Regions from separate parts of the Homo sapiens genome. Here region 2 is linked to region 1. Evidence: promoter capture Hi-C in 16 types of primary human blood cells and fetal thymus (Javierre and others, 2016). All regions are on one chromosome and are shown on one strand. The core of a region is centred on a gene start or on the middle of the fragment in contact, and the rest is flanking DNA. Distances in the headings are between cores, read along the strand shown.

Region 1 (4,559 bases), core at 1,411-3,910:
ACACGATCATAGCTCACTGCAGCCTCGAACTCCTGGCCTCAAAGCCTTGGCTTCCCAAAGTGCTGGGATTATAGGCATGAACCACTATGCCTGGCCAGCTTTCTTTCTTAACACATTGGTTCAGGCTTTTAGCTCACCAGCTGAGGCCAAACAGGCATTCTGGTTCTCAGAGGTCCCACAGGGCCACGCAGCTCAGTCCCTTGGGATGAGCATCTTTGAAGAAAGGCCAAGTCAGCACAGCTTGAGTGCTCAGTGGAACCCAAGCTGGGGCTTCCAAACTCTAGGCTACCCAGGCAAAAAGGATCCTGGCTCTCCTCCTCTCCCACTCCTCAGCCAGCAGGCCCCTGATGGATGGCTAACACAGGGGTATGGAGCAGCCTGCACCCCTGCCTTCTCATCCTCATGCCAACATCAACCCCAAATGCTCTTGTCACCCAGTGCCACCAGTTAGCATCCAACCTATTCTTCTTCTTCTTCTTCTTTTTTTTTTTTTGTTTGTCTGTTTGCTTGAGATAGGGTCTCTCTGTGTCTGCCAGGCTATAGCGCAGTGAAGCGATCATAGCTCACTGCAGCCTCGAACTCCTGGGGTCAAGCAATCCTCCCACTTAAGCTTCTCGAGTAGCTGGGCAACCTGTTATTCTTGAGGGCAATAATCAACAGTGAATGGGAGGGAGGAAAGGCAAGCAGGGAGGCAGAGACTGTCTGCTTCTACTGCAGCCTGAGGAGGGAAGATAATGAATCATCCCTCTCGTAAGCTAGAGATGAAAGGAGGGAGGTTCTTAAAACCCTAATGAGGCTCAGCACACAAAGACCCCAAGCCTTCCTGCCCTCACAGTCCTGGTTTGTGAGGCTTCAAAAAGCAGGGGAGGGAGCCCTGAAGCAAGAAAGTAGCTTGACCATCCAAAACTGTCTTCTTTGTCTTCCACGGGTCCACAGGCAAAGACCCACACCACCACAGCCACAACGAGGAAACACGGAAGCCAGCGTTCTACAAACATCCACGGAGCATCTCCCACGTGCAGCCGTTCTCATCATACATGCCTCACTTAATTTTCCACACTGGGCCAGGCACAGTGGCTCATGTCTATAATCCCAGCACTTTGGAAGGCCAAGGTAGACGGATCGCTTGAGCTCAAGGAATTTGGGACCAACCTGGGCAACATGGCAAAACCCTGCCTCTACAAAAAATACAAAAATTAGCTGGGCGCCGTGGTGCTGACCTGTAATCCCAGCTACTTGGGAGGCGGAGGCGGAGGATTGCTTGAGCCTGGGAATTTAAGGCTGCAGTGAGCCATGATCACGCCACTGCACTCCAGCCTGAGTGACAGAGCAAGACCCTGTCTCAATAATAATAATAATAATAATTCCACACAGCTCTATGGGTCAGTATGACAGCCCATTTTATGAATCAGGAGACTGAGGCTGGGTTGGGGGACAGTGTGATGCTGCAGGTCACACAGCTGGATCCGGTTGGAACTTGGGTCTCTTTTCCACATCATGCATGGTTCCCAAGCAACGGCTTCAGCATCATCACTTAAGGAGCTCATTCAAAGTTTTGAAAACTACAGATTCCAGATCCCATCCCTGGAAAGCCACGTTGTAGGGTTGGCTCCAAGAGAGCCCTACCTGCAGTCAGCTCTGGGAGCCAGTGCCTTACAGGTGGTCCTGAGGGCAGGAAGGAAAGTGTGGGGTGGATGAGAAGACACAGAAGGAAAACGAGGGTGTCAGTCCAGAGAGGACCTTGGAGGCAGGCTTGGCCTACTTTTAGCCCTTATTCTGCCTAAACCCACCCCTCCTCTCTACTCCGAGTCTTGTTAACTCGCTTTATACCACATCCTGCTGCTTTAACCTCGCCTTCCTTTTCCTTCTGAACAATCTCCTTCCTCCTACTGACCTGAACTTTTTGTGTATTTACCCCAGGCCGGGATGGGCCAGCACGCGCACATGCGCATGCCCACACACACACACACACACACACACACACGAGTCACGCGGGGATGTCCAGTGTGTAAACACAGATCCTCTGAGAGCAGAAAGCGTGCAGTTCTCTAGGACAGCAGCCGCGTCTGGGCCCAAGGCTGGCTAACTAGCAGGCTGAGTGAGGCTCGACGGAGGGCGCCTTACGCGGGCACTTCCATGACTCCCAGGTTCTGACGGCACAAGAGCCCTGATGCCCACGCTCACGGACAGTTCCCCGCTGGAGCGGGCAGGGGACCTGACCCTACGACACAGGGCGTCCTGTGTCAGAGGCAGGAGGCTGAGGACACAGCTGCGCAGAGCCGCCCAGCAGAGGTTACCCGGATAACGATAAGTGGTCCCCGCGACGCCCCTTAAGTCTCTGGGGTTATCTGGAGCGCAGGTTTGCAGACCCGCTGCCCCCGCGGTGGGCCAGGTCCACGGGGCCGGAAGATAGCAGGATCTGTCCAGCCCTCGGGCTGCGGCGGCTGCTCGCGGAGCCCACTCTCCCCGACGGTCCCCAGCTTGCTCCAGCTCTGCCTGGAGCTCCCATGCGTGCCCTCCGCATCCGCCCTGGCCGCCCAGTCACACACCTGCAGTCCCCGCCGGGCGCCGAGCCCCTCTCCAGCGGCGACTCCCTGCGATTCGGGTGACCGTCGGGACCACCGCGCCCCAGCTGGAGCCGCGCGGCGAGCCGCAGCATCTGCCCAGCCTGGGCTCCTCCGGCGGGCGGGGCGGAGCCTGTCAGGGGGCGGGGCCTAATGGGGCGGGGCTGACCGCGGAGCCGGCCTCTCCAGCCACCTGGCGGCCCGGCAGCGTCAGCCAGGTGCGCGCCCGGCCCCACATCCTCTGGGTCACGCCCCCGAGGCCGCAAGGCGTCTGAGAAGCAGCCCCGGCTCTGACCCGCCAGCCCTCGGAAGAAGCAGACCCTGGCCGGTCCATGGCAGTGGCCCGAGGGGCACCAGCGCGGAGCACCAGCGACCCCCAAGGAGTAAGGGGAGGTTAGGCCCCCGCGTCGGAAGCGCGGCTTTGGCCCCGCAGGAGGGCTGGGCGGAGCAGGGGGGCAGGTCTGGGGTAGGGGCTTAGGGGAAAGACGAGAAAGAGGAAGCTCCGACGAGCTGCTTCCTTCTCTCACTGCGACCCACTTCCTCTTCCTACTTCTATTTTCTTTCTTTTTTTTTTTTTTTTTTTTGAGATGGAGTCTCGCTCTGTCGCCAGGCTGGAGTGCAGTGGCACGATCTTGACTCCCCACAACCTCCGCCTCCCGGGTTCAAGCGATTCTCCTGCCTCAGCCTCCCGGGTAGCTGGGACTACAGGCGCGCGCCACCACGCCCAATTTTTTGTATTTTTACTAGAGACGGGGTTTCACCATGTTGGCCAGGATGGTCTCGATCTCTTGACCTCGTGATCCGCCCGCCTCGGCTTCCCAAAGTGCTGGGATTACAGGCGTGAGCCACTGCGCCCGGCCCCTACTTCTATTTTCTTTGGGTGCCCTTAACCCTTAAAATGCCTGCACTACTGCTGTGCAGACGGGCACCTTGACCCGCATCCTTCTGCAGGAACCTTCATAGAAATACCAGCCAGTCCCGGCGTTCAGCACTGCTGTTCCAGCCTCTGGCTGGACTTCCCGCCCTCCCTGGCCGGCACCAAGGCTACTGTCACCTGAGTGGTTTCCCCAGCCCCTGGGGAAGGGAGTGAGGGTGTGCGGGAGTTCCTGCCTCCAGGGTCAAGGCCCTCTTCTTGCCTCCCCCTTTTCTCCCCCAGACGACGTTGCAGATGATGCTCTACCAAGAGTTGGAAGGACTCCCCAGGGAATCCCACAAGACACTGCGCTTCCTATGCCTCCTTTCCCTCGTTTAAAAAATGGGGATAAGAAGGTTGGCTACTGCTCCGACAGCCCTCACAATGGAAGAGTAGCACTTCATTTGTGGGTTAACAAAGGGCAACGCTGAAATCTCCACTTCCACTATTGAATGGAACTGTGTCATAATATCTGTTAGAGGCGTGCAAACTCGGCCACAAGGTCATGGTCATACGTTATTGTTGGTCAAAAGCCGCAGCCCTACCTGAGGCTTTGAGAGATATGAACACCAATGACTTTTCTTTTCCTGACTCCCGAAATACCAAGAAAAAGCAACTTCCCCAAATGGACAGAAACAGAAAGTACCCTTGGTTGAACACAGAGGCCTGGTTCCAGCCATCGTTAGACGTGGGAAGGAACTCAGACCCCCTCTCCTACCTCATCCCCAACCCCTTCCCCACACGTCACCCTTTCACAGAGAAGGAACCAGAGCCACCAAGGGCTGAGAGAGGACTTGATAAGGATTCCAGTCTTCTGTCTCCCCTGTCCCCACTTTTTCCACCACAAAAATATGGACATTTGGAAGAAGAGGAGAAGAGGGAAGGTACACACTGTGCAAAGGAAGAAAATGGCAGAAATGCTCTGGAATCAGGAATTCAGGAGCAAGAATGACACTGTGTGCCAGATGGAAATGTTGGATTAGGAGAGCACTTGGAAAGGCAAATAATCTGCCAGAGAAATTATGGGATGCCTGCCTTCTGAAAATGGAGGAAAACTGCAAAAGAGTGGCTCATTGGTGCTC
Region 2 (4,559 bases), core at 1,413-3,912, 590 kb before region 1:
TGGGGGGCAGCCCCCGCCCGGCCGGCCGCCCCGTCTGGGAAGTGAGGGGCCCCTCTGCCGGGCCGCCACCCCGTCTGGGAGGTGTACCCAACAGCTCATTGAGGACGGGCCATGGTGACGATGGCGGTTGTGTCGAATAGAAAAGGGGGAAATGTGGGGAAAAGAAAGAGAAATCAGATTGTTACTGTGTCTGTGTAGAAAGAAGTAGACATAGGAGACTCCATTTTGTTCTATACTAAGAAAAATTCTTCTGCCTTGGGATGCTATTAATCTATAACCTTACCCCCAACCCCGTGCTCTCTGAAACATGTGCTGTGTCCACTCAGGGTTAAATGGATTAAGGGCAGTGCAAGATGTGCTTTGTTAAACAGATGCTTGAAGGCAGCATGCTCGCTAAGAGTCATCACCACTCCCTAATCTCAAGTACCCAGGGACACAAACACTGCGGAAGGCCGCAGGGTCCTCTGCCTAGGAAAACCAGAGACCCTTGTTCACATGTTTATCTGCTGACCTTCCCTCCACTATTGTCCTATGACCGTGCCAAATCCCCCTCTCTGAGAAACACCCAAGAATGATCAATAAATACTAAAAAAAAAAAAAAAAAAAAAAAAATTGAATGATTCGGCCGGGCGTGGGGGCTCACACCTGTAACCCCAGCACTTTAGGAGGCGGAGGTGGGCGGATTACAAGGTCAGGAGATCGAGACCATCCTGGCTAACACGAGGAAACCCCGTCTCTACCAAAAATACAAAAAATTAGCTGGGCATGGTGGCGAGCGCCTGTAGTCCCAGGAGGCTGAGGCAGGAGGATGACATGAACCCGGGAGGTGGAGCTTGCAGTGAGCCGAGATCGTGCCTCCGCACTCCAGCCTGGGCGACAGAGCCAGACTCTGTCACAAAAAAAAAAAAAAAAAAAAAAAAAAATTCAATGTTTCACCTATATTTACAGATTGGGAGATTTCACATAAATCTCGATTTCTTTCTTTTTTGAGACAGAGTTTTGCTCTGTCATCCAGGCTGGAGTGCAGTGGCGCGATCCCGGCTCACTGCCAGCTCCGCCTCCCGGGTTCACGCCATTCTCCTGCCTCAGCCTCCCGAGTGGCCGGGACTACAGGCACCTGCCACCAGGCCCAGCTAATTTTTTGTATTTTTACTAGAGATGGGGTTTCACCGTGTTAGCCAGGATGGTCTCGATCTCCTGACCTCGTGATCCACCCGCCTCTGCCTCCCAAAGTGCTGGGATTACAGGCGTGAGCCACTGCACCCAGCCTCGATTTCTGGCTTTCTTGAAAAGGCAACATTCTGGCTGCACTGGCGGCATTGCTGCCTGGCAATAACTGGCTGTGATGGAGAGGCGGCATCTTCCTTTGGATCAAGCTTGTCCAACCTGTGGCCTGTGGGCTGCACGCAGCCCAGGACGTCGGGACCTACTAACCTATTCATCTTACTTGCCCACTCCTGCACATTTCTAAGCTTTCAATATCTTTTTTCTTTCATTTTTTTTTTTTTTGAGAGGGTAGGGTCTCACTTTGTCACCCAGGCTAGAGTACAGTGGCATGATCACGGCTCCCAGGGTCAAGGCATCCTCCTACCGCAGCCTCCCAAGTAGCTGGGACTACAGGCATGCGTCACCAGACCCAGCTAATTTTTTCTTTTCTTTCTTTTTTTTTTTTTTTTGTAGAGACGGGGTCTCATTATGTTGCCCGAGGCTTCAGTATCTTTTCCAAAGCAACATGAAAGAAATGTGACCGTAAATCAATCAGCTTCTTGGTGTGATCTATGTGACGGCTAGGTGATAAACGAGTTGGTCAGAGAAAACTGGAAATATTTCCAAAGCCATGTTTACTCCCTTCACCCACCTGTGAGTCTTCGCCTTGGCTGTTTCCGACTCGGAATGTCCTCGCATTGATCCTCCCAATCACAGCCAGCTGAAACCAGCCTCCTTCCTGACGTATTCAGTAACTTTAGCTGATTGCCATCTCTCCTTCATCTCAACAACCTGTACCACACTCACTGGAGCACTTCGCTTTGCATCTTTAGTCGACCAGTTCAGATATATACAACCTATAAGGTAGGGACGGAGGCTTCTACCTGCCTGTACCCCCTTTGGAGGGCCCACGAATACAGAGCTGAGCACAAAAGATGTTTAAAGGACATTTTGTCAAAAATGTCGCTTACAGGTAGGTCGTTATTAGCAAGGTAGAGCAGCGGTACGGCCGAGTCTACGCTTGGGAATTCATTTGCTGACTCTTATCATTTACTGACTAAAGCAAAGTTACTGAGGCCTCAGTTTCCTCATCTACAACCCGGGGAGATGACCAGTACCCATCACAATCGATTGCTATGAAGATTCAATGATAATGCAGATAAGGCACTTAATACAGTGTCCCCTCACCGTCCACACCACACGGGCACGCCCGCTTATTCCTGAGGACCGGGCTGGGATGTCGCCTCCTTTGTGTAGCCTTCCTACCCTGACTTCGCAGACTGCTCCCACCGCCTGGATCCATGCCCGTCCACCCGCCAGCTCAGGGCTGAACGGCTGAGGCGGGCGCGCGGTGGAGAAAAGAGCTGCAGACTGAGGAAGGTCAGGAAGGAGAAAGGGACACACCAGACGCGGCGTCTGAATCCCCCTCCACCCAGAGGCCCCCGAGCAGCAACTCCGCCCCACCTCCCGCCCGCTCCGCCGGAAGCCGGTCAGCGCCAGCCGGAAGCCCCGCCCCCTAGAGGCACCGCGGACACCGTGCAGCGCTGTTCACCCAGATGCCAGCTGTGACCTTGGCTAAGCCAGTGACTTAACTCGGGCCCGTTCCCCATTCCCACGTTGTTGCCAAGTCTCCAGCCTGGAAAGTAAACGGGCTTCAGGTGTCCTGTTTAGATGCTTAAAATGAGGAACGGCAGGAGCACACACACTGCTGCCACCTCACACCTTTTCACTTCATCCTGACGAAGCTGCAGTTTAGTTTATATTTTAACTCAAAGACGTGTTAGGTTTTGGTTTGATGGCACTCATCCAGCACTTGTGCAGAAAACAAGGTAAAGGGGGCCCATGGGTCTATCAGATAACCTGAACCCGAGACCTCTCAATCTGGAGGAACAGCTTGAAGAAGTCATCTAGAAGCTATAAAGTCACAGAAGCTTCTTATCCTATTGAAAGCAAGACTTCCTATCCAATGGCAATACAAACTTTTACGCAGTAAGGTAAAAAATATAGCCTGTCCATATAGCAACCTATCCATAGTAAGCAAGTTAAAAGACAGGTTCAAGAGGAAGTGTTTCCAACTAGCTTTTCTTGTAGGCCTTCTTCTTCTCAATGACACCCCTCCAGCTTCTGATATATCCTCAAATGCTGCTGCCCACTATAAAAAAAATCTCATCAGTCCTGATTTCAGAAAAATTTTAGACCAACAAATCAGAGGTAAGAGACTGATCCACTGAAAACTAGGGAGTGTCCTAAATCACCACACACAAAACACAGGCTCTTTGTTTCAAGTTTTAATCAAAGCTTGTATATAAGATTACTTTATTCCTGCATCTTCTCAATGGTTTCTTCCTTGTATTTGCCCTTTTCCTTTCCTACTTGGCGAGATTTGGCTTTCCGTTCGAGGATCTTTTTGCGGTCTTTGTCCAGTTTTAGCCTAGTGATAACCACCTGCAGAAAAATAAGAAAAAAACACTCCCAAGCTTTAAATAATCACTAAAACACAAGGGAAAGCCCAACATTCAATACCATTTCCCAAACCTGGGGTAGGTGGATGCCTAATAAGAAAAGATTTTAACTTTTAAAAAACTCCAGAAATCACTCTTTAGCCATCAAACCTGGCTTATTTACTAATTTCCTACCAACAAAGGAGAAAAGGCAAGATGGTATCAGTAATTCTTAAAGCCTCTTCTGTGCTTCATTATAAGATTTGTTTCTTTTTCACTGAGAAATATATGATTCTGCTCTTCTCACTACAGTTTTACAAGCTGTCATATACAAATATATTTGTTTCCAAAGTAACTTCAGGCTGGGTGCGGTGGTTCATGCCCCCAATCCCAGCACTTTGGGAGGCAGAGGCAGGCGGATCACCTGAGGTCAGGAGTTTGAGACCAGTCTGGCCAACACGGTGAAACCCCTTCTCTACTAAAAATACAAAAATTAGCTGGGTATGGTGGCACATGCCTGTAATCCCAGCTACCTGGGAGGCTGAGGCAGGAGAATCTCTGGAACCCTGGGGGGGCGGAGGCTGCAGTGAGCTGAGATGGTGCTATTATTGCACTCCAGCCTGGGCGATCAATCGAGACTCCATCTCAAAAAACAAACAAGTAACAAAACAGCAGGGTGTGGTGAATGCCTACTCAGGAGGCTACTGCGGGAGAATCGCTTGAACCCAGGAAGCAGAGGTTGCAGTGAGCTGAGATCGCACCATTGCACTTCCAGGCTGGGCGACAAGAGCAAAACTCTGTCCAAAACAAAAAAAACCCCACCCCCAAACAGAAAAATAATAAAGTAACTTCAGAATTTTAATGCTAGAAATTAAAGGTAGCATCCACACATAATTCCACCTGCAAAATCTT

The links. Contacts are between HindIII fragments. The CHiCAGO score rates a contact against its expected background, and 5 or more counts as called.
Region 2: a contact is called between the fragment with the promoter of KRABD2 here and the fragment with the promoter of PIK3R5 in region 1, in 8 of 17 cell types (total CD8 T cells, total B cells, naive CD8 T cells and 5 more). The highest score is 6.6, in total CD8 T cells.

Annotation. Positions count from the first base shown.
Region 1 is chr17:8,963,047-8,967,605 of GRCh38, forward strand. PIK3R5 (phosphoinositide-3-kinase regulatory subunit 5) reads right to left here and starts at 2,661. Exons shown (of 19, transcript NM_001142633.3): 1 at 2,550-2,661. PIK3R5-DT (PIK3R5 divergent transcript) reads left to right here and starts at 2,801. Exons shown (of 3, transcript NR_184080.1): 1 at 2,801-2,957; 2 at 3,721-4,559. RefSeq lists silencers at 2,585-2,904, 2,975-3,074. The HindIII fragment of the contact is 6,543 bases long and covers 609-4,559 here.
Region 2 is chr17:8,374,042-8,378,600 of GRCh38, forward strand. KRABD2 (KRAB domain containing 2) reads right to left here and starts at 2,663. Exons shown (of 2, transcript NM_001304947.3): 1 at 1,859-2,663. RPL26 (ribosomal protein L26) reads right to left here. Exons shown (of 4, transcript NM_000987.5): 4 at 3,475-3,651. The coding sequence ends at 3,523. RefSeq lists an enhancer at 2,302-2,853 and a silencer at 2,598-2,797. The HindIII fragment of the contact is 1,665 bases long and covers 1,471-3,135 here.